Regions from separate parts of the Homo sapiens genome. Here region 1 is linked to region 2. The links are contacts of gene promoters, found by promoter capture Hi-C in blood cells and fetal thymus (Javierre and others, 2016). All regions are on one chromosome and are shown on one strand. The core of a region is centred on a gene start or on the middle of the fragment in contact, and the rest is flanking DNA. Distances in the headings are between cores, read along the strand shown.

What was found. Contacts are between HindIII fragments. The CHiCAGO score rates a contact against its expected background, and 5 or more counts as called.
Region 1: a fragment that was not itself captured here is called in contact with the fragment with the promoter of MEIS1-AS2 in region 2 in 1 of 17 cell types (megakaryocytes); the score reaches 6.0 in megakaryocytes.

What each region holds. Positions count from the first base shown.
Region 1 is chr2:66,865,060-66,871,320 of GRCh38, forward strand. No RefSeq gene overlaps it. Among named protein-coding and RNA genes, the nearest start is that of LINC01799, 36 kb to the right of the region's middle. The HindIII fragment of the contact is 1,369 bases long and covers 2,290-3,658 here.
Region 2 is chr2:66,436,361-66,442,717 of GRCh38, forward strand. MEIS1-AS2 (MEIS1 antisense RNA 2) reads right to left here and starts at 3,970. Exons shown (of 2, transcript NR_046625.1): 1 at 3,865-3,970; 2 at 2,727-3,329. MEIS1 (Meis homeobox 1) reads left to right here. Exons shown (of 13, transcript NM_002398.3): 2 at 1,377-1,603; 3 at 3,483-3,624; 4 at 4,202-4,252; 5 at 5,054-5,104. RefSeq lists enhancers at 3,081-4,280, 6,080-6,357. The HindIII fragment of the contact is 4,208 bases long and covers 2,693-6,357 here.

The sequences.
Region 1 (6,261 bases), core at 1,724-4,223, 430 kb after region 2:
CCCGGTCACTGGAGGCATTCAATCACAGGCTGATAAGTTGCTGGGGTTTTCTTAAATAGAGTGTTCATTTGGGGAAGATGGTTGGTCTTCATTATTTCTATCTTTCTAATTCTCCCATAGTCTACATTCTTTGTAAAATAAATTTCTGTCATTTCAGATGGTCTAGCCCATCCTTAACAAGCAGTTATAAGGAGAGGACTAACATCTAAAGAGGACACCAGAGGTCTGATCTCAGATCCCCTTCTATTTGTGACTTGCTGTTTGTGAATTTCTAAACTTCACTGGGCATAAGGATCCCAGATGCTTTCTCTTATTCAAATCCAACATTTCATGGTTCTGGAATGTTGTTTCCTAACTGTAATGTCAAATCAGAAAAGTTCCCTGTCACTCCTTCTTCTTTATAGTTTATGGTTTAATTGACAATCTGGAGGAACTCTCATTGACTCAGATCTAGAGATTCTGTTGCTGAGGTGCTTAGATCTTAAAACCTGAAGGAGAAGAATGAGATAAAAACTCAAGGTTTTTGGCTGATACATAGGTAGATACTGCCTTTCACTAACAAATAAGGAACATGGTTGAGCCTCAAAACTATTTTCTGCAAAACCCTGATGCTGTGCCCTAGAAGATAATCAATGTATAGTGATTGAATTTAACAAAATAAAGTATCCTTCCATGTAGTGGATTTCATGCCTTAAAAATTCAGCATTTACTGTATGTCTTCTAACACTGTTATGGTTTTCAAATATTTTAAGTTTGGGACACTTTTCATTTTCTATGTGAAGTCTCTAATAGGATTATAATATGTTATCACAGGTCTTGCTTGCCATATAGCTCAATGACCAAGTCTTTCTAATATTAGGAGATAGTATCTACACACTTTCATGTAATGCTAGATGAATATGTCTATTGCAAAGGCAACAAACTGATTTTGAAAGAGGATAATATGTTCTGTAATTGTTAGATCCATGCTCACCTCTTCCTACCGAATTAACCATAACATCATCTGCCTAAAATGTATCCACATCTGTGGTTCAGAGATCTGCCTCATCTGATATCCTCCTTGAGGCTAATAAACAAATCAAAGATGGAACCAGTTCAAACACAAAGAGGCTACAGATAAAAAAGAGAGTATGGCAAGAGAAAGAAAATACTTGAACTTTTCAAGCAAGGATGCCACCCACTTTTAGATTTATAATAGATGGTCCAATAGCATTTTAAAGTGACTGTATCAGTTAGAATAGGCTAGGTTATAATGCAGTAACAACTCCCAAATTTCAGTCCCTTAACAATAAAAGGTTATTTCTTGTTCTTAGCCATCTTGGGTCTACTTTAGTACTGCTCCGTGTTCTGTTTACTCCACAGCCCAGTTGACAGAGCAATTTCTCTTTGGGACATTGCTGGTCATTGAGCAGAGGGAAAAAGAAAGCCTGGAAACCACATACTGGTTCTCAAAGCTTCTGCATGTCAGCGACACATATTTCCTGCATATTTTACTGACTGCAGAAAGTCCTGTGGCCAAGCCCCACCAATAGAGGAGAGAAATGTAATTCTCCTTCATTCAACCTTCAGTATTATAAGCTTTCATGGTCCTTTTCCTGTGGAATTAATCACCGTTCAGCAACAAGCTGAACCATGTAAACTTAAAAAATGGGAGAACACCTGTGTGTGCCCATGCATGATGCAGAATTTGGATCAGCATTTCTTTGTCTGAGGACCTTTTCTTTCTCCTGCTGAGTTGGATGGGGAATCTGAAGCCCTGTCATCTTTCCCACAGCCCCCTGCTATCTTTGAGAGAGAAGGCACCAGCTGTGTTCCCTGATGGAGTGGGGATGGCAGCTGCAAGCTGAAACACCATGTTGTCTCATGTAGTTTCTCTGTCAGTGCATCTATGGATGTGTGACCACCTTGCTAACTAACCACTTGTAGAGGCATTTAAAATCCACATGTCTGGCCTTATTATGGCAAGATCATTCCACAGGAGCTGAGCATGAGTGTGTGGCACTGATGAGCTGCTGTCTGTCTAGTTAGTTTGCCTTTCCAGTTTCCATTGCTTATGACACGAGTGTTGTTGAAATTGTGTCAGAGTGAAAATCTGTCATCGACTGTAAAAGGAGAAAAAACAGGCAAATGTGGCATGTAACTTGTCTGCATAAATCTCCTCTGTTGCTTCAACCCTTCATGCAATAAAACAGCTCATCCTGAAGTTCTGTTCATTGCACATCAGAACAGAAATTCATTGTTTTCTTTCCTCTGTGTCATAAAACAGCAATGCCTCCTAAGTATTTGACAAGCTTCTATTCTGCAAAAGCTCCAGAGTATCCCCAAAGAACAAACTTGCAACTTCAAGACTTGATGGTGTCAAATGCTAAATGGTGTCTTGTTTGGGCAGCCAGAGGACATAATTAGATTTGAAGTCATCATCTATAATCTACTAAATTCATGATTTTATGATATGATTAGGCATGCTCTTCTCTGCAATGACCTAAAAATAAGATAATGCGATGGAAACAGAATTTACTGGATATATAAACAGCCCTCGCTCTGAGATGGTGCTTTGTCTGGGTCAGATTTCTTGTGATTGGCAGGAAGCTGTGACAGCTCTTATTGTATGTTTCTAAGAGGAACATGGGTAGAAATGGTCAATTAGAACTGCCACTCAGCCTCTCCTCACTGTGGCTGCTGTTGGGCTGCCTCTTGAGCTCTGAACTAGCTGTTAAAATGGGGAAATCCTGCTCCCCAATGTCATTGGGTTAAGTAGGGTGATACTAGGAAAATCTTAATTGCATGCCCACACCTCTAAAGTTACAACCCAGCAAAAATGAACCAACTTAATGCTTATGGGATAGAATTAACCATCAGTTTAAGTACAGGATAGTTCGAGTGGAATATTTCCTCTCTATTTTCTTCTTAACCACTGAGAGACAGCTATCTCTTTCCCTACTGCATAACCCTCTCCTCTATGCACAAAAATCTTCCCCTACCCCCACTACACAAAGACACACTCCCTCCCAGAAGTATGTAAGGACACAGCCATGCGTGTGATTTTTTTCTCCTCTTTCTTCTTCCAGTGTCCTGATGTCAAGGTGAATGGGGTCAATAGAGAGAGCAGCTGGTAGGAGCCAGTCTTTAGCTGATTTCCTCCTCGAGTTGTGGGGGCTGCTGCCAAGTCATTCGTCTCACCCTGTGTGTCTGTTATAATGTTGCAAAAGAAAACAGAAGGTGAGTTCAGTCCAATGTGGGCAACTCAACAAACAGGTGGGAAAGGCATACAAAAGTTTAATCAATGCCATTCTGAAGAAATTGTCTTTGTACTGAAAGTGAGCTAAAAGAGTGTTGGGTTTGGAGCTAGGAAGTAAGAATTTCTTGAAGTGGTCTTTGGAGTTAAACAAGCTGGAAAGACTAAGTGAGGAAAAACAGAAAATAATAGAAGAGAGTAGAGAAGAGGAGAGGAGGAGAGAAAAGAGATGGAGAGTGGAAGAAAGGGAATAACTAGAGAAGAGGAGAGAGGAGAGGAAAGACAGACCATTCTAATCACAAGGGATAGGTGGAGATTAAGGAGGGAGACTCTCCTGGGGGGTCAAAATGGTCTAGAGCCTTTTCCTACTGGACTGAGTTAAAAAAGAATAAGGAAGCACCTAGATAGATTGGGTATAGAGTAAGCTTGAGCTAAGGAAATGGGTAAACAATTAATCTTGAAGTGGACCATGAAGAGACGGAGTGTGTTGGAGCATTCTTCCACAAGTGCCCCTTTCTTCCATAAGTCACAGTTCATTCTGCAACCTCTTGGGTTGGGGACCCAGATGAAAACTGATGAAAAAGGGGTATCAAAGAGCCACCCTGTGCTGTTGGTTGACAGCTGCTTTGGGTCCTATTTTCTAGGTACTACTGAAACCATCTCCAGGTCCAGGCAGGGATGCACAGGAGGTCTTGGCCTCCTGCTGCTCATGCAAGAAGGAGAGCCTCCAGTAGGTCCACTCACCCTACTCCCTTTTATCCAGTGTGAGACTCTCACTTCTGACAGCTCATTTTGAGGAGGAGTTTATGTTGGGTTAATTCCATCAGAATATAAATGCTTTGTCGTCTTTGATACAAACGGCTGTATTGAGTACGTTGGTGGCTCATTTTATGGACTCAGACTGGGCTAAAATGGAAAAAAATGTCAGAGGCTGAGTTGCTGCTATGGAGTTGATTAGATAGGAACAATGAGTTTAGATGAGACAGAAGGATGTGGTGAATGATCCTATTAATAGTCATGTGAGTCATGTGGTTGTGGCCAACATTTAGAGCCCTTAGAGTTCAGAAAGAGTGAGGCTGCTCAGGGATGGGCCTGGAGGTGGAAAGGTTCATCCTGGGCCTTGAAGTATGAGGAGGGAACTGCAGAAGGAGTAAGGTCAGGAAAGCATCCTATATTAGGGCAAGGCAAGGTCACTAAATAATTTTACGAATTATATGTTGGAATTCTCTCTTCCTTCTCTTCTTTCCTGCTTCACTACTTGTCAAATTAGCACCCTCTTGCCATTTAATGAACTTTTGATATGTTTCTTTAACCTGTCAAGTTTATGAGGGGGAAATTCCATGGCAATTCCTTCTAATTTATAACACAGTTTGCTCAGGATATAGTAAGCATATTTTGAGGTTCTGCAGTATAACTGAAAATGCTGTAAACACTGGAAATCAGGAAAAGAGGTCCATATACTCATGTACATTTATTAAGTAGCTGCAAGTGAAAACCCTGGGGGGATAGCACTGAAGAAAGCAGGCAGAAGCCTGCCCTCATGTGGCTTCCATTTCAGTGGGCATGGAGACAATAAAGAAATTTACACCAAGGTGTGTAAGACAGCAACAGATAATAGCCAGTGTTATGAATAGGAAGAAGGGTAACAGGCATGCTGGTGGCTGTGATTTTATGTTTCTATTTCATATGGGTGGCCAGGGAAATTTTTCTGAGGAGCTGGCATTTGAACAAAGACCTGAATGAAGAAAGGGGAACATCCCGGCAGATCTCTGGGGAAAAAGCCTTTCAGGCAGATGAAATGGTCAGCGTGAAGATTTCAGGTCGACATATCCGTGATCTGTTCAAGGAATGGTTTTGGAGGCCACATGAATGAACTTGCAGAAGGTGGAGATGAGGTCAGAAGTGGCCAGGACACATGAGACCTTTTGGACAATATTAAGTCTTCCTGATTTTATTCTAAATATGATGGAAAACTGTTGAAGAGTTTTGGCTAAAGGAATATGAACAAATATATTACAATATGCAAAATAAGGTGGGGTGGGATGAAAGCTGAAAAGATAGAAAACCAATAAAGCACAGAGCTTTGCAGAAGCCACAATCTAATAGGGAAACAGAAGGGGCAACAAGTGCTTGAATACAGTGTAATGAGGACCCAAGAAGAGGAATGTTGGAGTTCAATGGGTACACCAGGGAGGTGGAAATGAGCTTAGCCAGGGGATCCAAGGATGGTCTCACAGAGAATTTACATGTCAGATGCATCTTGAAGATTGAGCAGGGATTTTTCAGATACAAGAAACTGAAAAAGCCTGACTCACAGAGGAGCAGCACATCACAAAGGAAGAGGCACCAGAGAATGTAGCTTGTTTTAAGGACACCGAGCTGTTGAGGATGACTGGATCACAAGTGAGCATGGTGATTGGCAAGAGGTGGCCAGAAAAGCTAAAGCATGGAAAGCCTCATTTGTGGGTGACTTTATTGTATAACAATAGAGGAGGAACCATTAGAGTTATGAGCAGTGAAATAGAAAGTGGCATTTGTGTTTTGGAAAGATTACTCTGCCAGTAGTGTGAGGGGCGGTAGCTGTTTCTACTTCCTCTGGAATTTGGAGTCATATAGAACAGAATTCAAATCCCACCTAGAATAGTTATTTGCTGGGTGATCATATATAAGTCTCTTAATATCTCTTAGCCTCGATTTCCTTGTTTATAAATTGGGAAAAACAAGTATCTTCTTCAGGAGAGCTGTGAAGATTAAATTTTAAAAAGTGTTTAAGGCTGGGCGATGTGGCTTACGCCTGTAATCCTAGCACTTTGAGAGGCCAAGATAGGTGGATCACTTGAGATCAGGAGTTCAAGACCAGCCTGGCCAACATGGTGAAACCCTGTCTTTACTAAAAACACAAAAATTAGCTGGGCATGGTGGTGGGTGCCTGTAATCCCAGCTACCCGGGAGGCTGAGGCAGGAGAATCAGTTGAACCCGGGAGGTGGAGGTTGCAGTGAGCCAAGACCACGCCACTGCACTCCAG
Region 2 (6,357 bases), core at 2,720-5,219:
TCAATTTGTATAGACTTGTATACAAGGCAATATTTTGCAAGTTTCTCTTAGATAAGCCCTCTACTAATTGAATACTAAGCACACAGTTACTCACTTTAAAAATGCAATACTAATTTCCCCATATTCCTTTTTCAATGGAAATGCAGTGAGAGTAAAGTGAGACAATGACAACCCAACTGAGGTAGTTTCTTAAAAGAAAGGGGGTCTACAAAAAGCCTTCCTTGCATAATTTGTGTCCTGGCCCTCAAAGCCCTGTTTGCAAAAGAAAGTTACTAGGCTGACACAGTTTTCTTTACTCCTTTGGTTCAGGCAAATGTCAGCGTTCTTCCAAACTCTTTTCACACCTCTGGCTTTAAGGAGATGAAAGTGGCAATTCCTCCTTTCTTTGAAAATCATTTCACTCTCAGCGCCTCCAAATCTTGGGAAAATAACTGCCTGGAATGAACCAATTAGAAAAACCTAAATAGCTAAATTTCACACACACAAAATAATGACAATCAATATGAAAGTAGTTTTTTTTTTTTTTTTCTGGAAGAGGAAGATGGAAAGTTGTGCATTTGCTTTTGAATTTGCTTTAAACCTGGTGAGTAACATTTGCCTCCTTGACTTCTAGTCTGGAAACAAAGTTCATAAGAGTAAATAAGAAAATAGAATATTAGCTGCTTCAACTATAGATTTTCTTTAACTTTGGGGGTGGGGAATTGCCCAATTCTAAATTCAGCTCTGATGTTCAGGAAAAGCTACCCTCCTTTGAGTTTCACTTATAAGGGGTCAGTTAGTTTTGTATAATTTAGCAGAGTTTGTCTTGGAAAGCAAAAGAAATGCAGTGTCTTGTAGGACTGCCTAACCTCACGCTGGCAGGGAAATAAAATGAGAAGCCTGTCTAAATTCACGTGCTTTGCGTAGCTGTTCCCATCGTAACTTTTTTTTTTTTTTTTAATTCCCCCTGATGTGAAGGGGCTGTGAAACTAGGCGGGTTTGCTGCAGTGTCCTGGCACGTTTTATTATTGTGATTTTGAATTTCTTCCTCCAGAGACATGCCCGTTTCACCTTCTACCCTCGGGAGAATGCTTCTCTTTCTCTCTTTCTTTCTTCTTTCCTTCTTGCCAAAGGAGCCTGAATTTCTAAACTAGTTGATAGGGACACAAGTTAGGGCAAGATCATTCATCCCAGACGAGTCTCGCTGAGAATTCTGTATTTTTTACTTAAAGCTTTAATTTTAAAATAAGAAAAACTCAGCTTTATAGATGCAAGGCCACCGAATTCCGGGTGGAAGGACCCAGCTGTATTGACCTTATATAAGCTCGGTGCCTTGCCGTTCTCCCATTTGCCCGCCTGGCCTCCTGAACCTTCTTTCTCTCCTGTTTGTCATGCAGTACGACGATCTACCCCATTACGGGGGCATGGATGGAGTAGGCATCCCCTCCACGATGTATGGGGACCCGCATGCAGCCAGGTCCATGCAGCCGGTCCACCACCTGAACCACGGGCCTCCTCTGCACTCGCATCAGTACCCGCACACAGCTCATACCAACGCCATGGCCCCCAGCATGGGCTCCTCTGTCAATGACGCTTTAAAGAGAGATAAAGATGCCATTTATGGGTAGGTACAATGGGCAGCAGGTTAAGTAGTTGAGACTCAACGCTTCCCTCTTTCTCTGTGCCCTTGGTAAGAGGAAAGTCAGAGTTCTCTGGATTGGAGGTACATCTTTGGTGACTTTTCATTCACATTTCATGGATAATTTGGGGAGGTGGCCTGCCATCCCTGAAGCCCTACATCCCCATACACACTCTGTGCACATCCAGTGCCCTGCTCCACCATGGCAGTGCCCGCAAGGGGGTCCCAGATGAGAAGAAGCTGGCTAAAGGGCCCTTGTCCCCTCTCAGACTCCTTCAGCGGGCTGGAGTCCTCCCTCGCTCGATTTCGCCCGAGAGCGTTAGGGGTTTCTAAATGCAGGCGCCTTTGTGTTGTAACGAAACTTTTAGTTTAAGGGAAAATCTCTTTTAAGCCACTGATTGTTCTGACTTGCTGAGTTTACTCAGCAGCCTTATGCTGGCTCTGCCACTGCACAATAAAACCAAAGCAGGACAGTTGCAGGTCAAGCAAGGGGGAACATGTTTTGCATTTAGGGAGTTTGACCACTGAAGTCAAGGAGAGGAGCTTGCTCTGAATTGTTACACACATTAAGAAACTTCTAGATGTTTTAGCACTTTGTGCTCAAAGGCGAAACCTGCAGGATTTAGAAATAAGTAAATTCGGGGTGCTCTTCCTCGGAGGTTGTTTTCTGGCTGCGGTTTATACTGCTTTCTCCTCCGCCATTCGATTAGACCCTGGGCTAGTAGAATCCTTTGAAACTCACTTGTGCCTACTGTGTGCCGATGAATTTGGGAACCTCTTTTTACTTTGCAGAAACTTTTATTTCTATTTATTTATTTTTAAAAAATCAGGACACACTGACCCTCCCTCGCTGGAAAAAAAAATATATATAATCTTTTTATTTTATTTTCTGATCCCTTGTGCGATGGGCTTGTTTAATTCCCACCGTTCTGTCCGCAGAGTTAACTACAAGTGGTTTAGGCTCTGGGACAGAACATTTGGGGAAGCTTTGTAAAGGACCCCAAACTGTTAAATTCCCAGCTGAGCTGTGAGAGCTAATAAAAGACTTGAGATACCTCCTTGGGCATTAGAAGAAGCTTTTCTTTCTTTCTTCTTCTTCTTCTTTTTTTTTTTTTTTTCTTTTTTATGGGCTGAGACAAGCGACATCTAGGCCCCTCGCAATACTAGCTGCTTTGCCACTTCGCAGAGACAAAATGAAAGGCTCTACTGCAGGAACATTTGAAGGAACTTTCTTTGGGGGGCGGTGGGGGCTATCAGCGAAGGGAGGGGAATGTGCGTGGAGCTGAGGAGGAGCCTCCCGGCTCTCCGAGGGCCTTGGGGTTGGGATCCCTAGGTGCAGCCCGTTGACAGTCGGCCCCACGGCCATGGACGTCCTTTCCCCAAGTTAGCTGAGCGCCTGCCACCGAGATCCCCCGAGCCTGGGCTTCGCGCGGCCGCCTAGGAGGAACCCGCAGGAACCAGCCCTCCCCAACTCTCCGCCCGGCGCCTTTCTCCTCCACCGGATCCTGGATGTGCAGTGGAGGGGACGAGGGCTTGTCGGGTGGGAAACTTAATTCAAAATGGCTGCTGGAAACGCTTGGGTTTTATTCGTAGCAAATGTTGCCAATTTCTCCGGCCAGATACGCTAAACCGATCCTCAGATACCGTCCATGGCTCAGGGCCTCCGACTTCAGGGCTCCAGGAGGAAGGGGAGGTGAGCGGTCACCTGGGTCTGGGGGAGGGGGAGGAAAAGGAAAAAAGTAGATGACACAATCGGAGAGGGGGTCTGTTCCTCTTGCTCCTCCAGCTGTTTTTCTTGGGCACCTTTTTCCATTGACTGGGGACTAACCATTATGTTGTTTGTGACTGTTGTATTTTCTTGCAGACACCCCCTCTTCCCTCTCTTAGCACTGATTTTTGAGAAATGTGAATTAGCTACTTGTACCCCCCGCGAGCCGGGGGTGGCGGGCGGGGACGTCTGCTCGTCAGAGTCATTCAATGAAGATATAGCCGTGTTCGCCAAACAGGTCAGCAAAATAGATGTTAAAAAGTAAAAGAAACAAAAAGAGAGCCCCCCCTTCGCCAACACACACGCGCGCGCGCGCGCGCGAACACACACACACACACACACACACGGCACACTTTCAAAAGTAGCCAGCACGTAGTCGGCCTTAAGCCATGCATGTTACCTCCAACCTCAGATTTTCTCTCTGTCTGAGTGTCTGTTTGCAGATAACTTAAAATCACCCATCTGCATCCCCACTCACCCTCCAGAAAGCAAACGTGGAGAGCTCACTCTGCAGAATAAAATCAAGAACACCACGGTTGTAGCTGCTGTGGACTCGGCGGTCTGAGCAGCCTCCCCGAGAGCCGTAGTTGCTAGTAGAAGTAAGATTGAGCTCTGGGCTTGTTTTCAGCTTATTTAATTCACACTGAAATGTTTCTGCGCGGGACGAACTCGGTGTCACCGGGTCCCTCCCGGAGGGTTACTTCCTGCCCCCGACAGTGTAATGAGGCAAGAAACTAGGAAGGCGACCAGATTTCAAATTTTTCTTTCTTTTTTCTCTCCCCTCCCTCTCCCCTCTCCTTCTCACTTGTATTTAGATTCGCGCAGAAAAACCTCTATTTTCTTCTAATCCAGAACTGGATAACTTGGTAAGAGCGGACCCCTATTTCCCTCCCCCGCCCCCGACCCCCTACCTCCCACCTCCAACGCCCTCAGCTTTGCTTTGAGAGCCCTGAGATTTCTAGACCGGTCTTCCCGTGCCTGCAGGTTGGCTGCAAATGTTTCTGTACACGGACAACTGGTCCGGGACAAGATCCCGGGGAAATAAATTCATCTCGAGAGGGGCCGGGCGAGCCAGCGCGGGGAAACGCGAGCTTTTGTTTTTTATGACAGCCGGGCTGCGCAGCTCTAATCAGCGCGGGGATTTATCTCCCGGCCTGTCAGCATGTGTGCTTAAACTTTGCGGACTTCCTAGCCCTCTAAGTCCCATCACGAGGGCAGCCACCGGACAAGAGCCCCCAAACAACCAGTTTGCCTGAAAGGTGTAAGGAAGGCAGCAGAAACTTTGCAATGGGAAAAGCCACAGTTTGAGGGCCATTTGGAATATTTTTCTGTCCACTCCTTCCAAGGACACATGTAGTCCAGTGTTGTGGCCCTTTTGGGGTGGGGTGGGGCCAGTGGGACTGAGAAAGGGGAGAGCCATGGGGGAGGAGAGTGTTTATGATCCTCACTTAGATGCTGTGTTGTTGTTTTAGCTAGTTTTTTTTTTCTTAAGAAATATAAACCTCTAGATGGTACCCAGTTGCTGCTATTAAGTTTTAGTGTTATTGCCATAAATCAAAATAACTCTATTTACTGGTGGGAGGGGGTGGGCTGGAGATGGTAGAGCTGTGGCAGCCAGTTTTCTGCAAGCCAGGAATGGGGTGCTTATTGTTTTTGTATCTTTGCAGATGATTCAAGCCATACAAGTATTAAGGTTTCATCTATTGGAATTAGAGAAGGTAATTTCTCTAGCCTCTTTTCCTTTTACTTACCCCTTACCCCCAAACACACAGGGGGGAGGGTTCCGAATGGCTGAAGTTCAGCCTTCTGATACATTTGCATAAATGTCTTTCTTTCTGGTAATTAGTGTCAAGGCCAATCTTAGCGTCCATTTCTCTTCGCAGTTTAATTACAATTTCAGCCACTAAAACTGGGATCACAAACGCCCTAGCCTTGTGTTCATTCTTAATAACTTGCTGGCTTTGTGTAAATAGTTGCAATTCTGTGCATCCCAGCTGATGTTTCGAATGCTGCTCTGAGGTTGTTTCACAAGTTCATACCTCTGTTGTCTCTTCTCATCCTCTTCCTTCTCTTCTTTGCTACCTCTGAGGGAGAAAAAAGTTTTATTCAGTTGTAGTGAGTTTCTGGAAGACAGTCTTGAGAGCAAGGGCAGATCAGACACAGGGGAGAGGCAGAAGGGGAGAAGGAGGAGGAGCGGGAAGGAGTCTGGAGGAGGTGGTGGGGAGGCACATTAAACGTTTTGCAGAGACAAAGCAGAGTTGATAGTTGTGTCAATTTCTTGAATCTGTGAATCCTGCACACACTCCACCTTCACACTCAAGAAAGGGTGTGGGATAACATGATTTTGCTAGCTGTTCTATAAATCTCAGCAATAAAAACTTAATGCATTGTAATTCAAACTAACATTAAATTGCAAGCACACTGGGGTTTCTTGTGAATTTTTGCATGTCAGTGATGCCTGGGACCTCTAGGAAACCTCTGCACTTACACTTAAATATTTTGAGGCATTCCTTCTCCTTTTTGTAAAAAAAAAAAAAAAAAAAAAAAATCAATTTGATATGTTTTTGTGTGGCTGTATGTTTTCCCATATCAGGAGTACTGGCAACTTGATTTCCTTCCATTTTTTTTTCAAAGAAAGTTTTCTAAAATATACCCCTTAGAGATAAAAACCTTCATTACAAATATAATAAGGACTTGGGTTGTCAGGCATTTATCCTATGCCACCACAGTACAGGTTCTTTGGAGAATATATATGTGCATATATACACACGTATACATTTTTTTCTTAGACACATTAGAAAGGGATTTATGATAAAGTCACTGGATGAAATTAAATAGTTTACCTTAAATGTCACCTACGCAGGTCACCTCTCTAATGACCACAGCCCCAGGAGCAGATGAATTTAACACGGGTGTTGAATATGTTGTAGCCTGTGAATCATCTTGTCACTGTCAATTTTCTGGGATATCT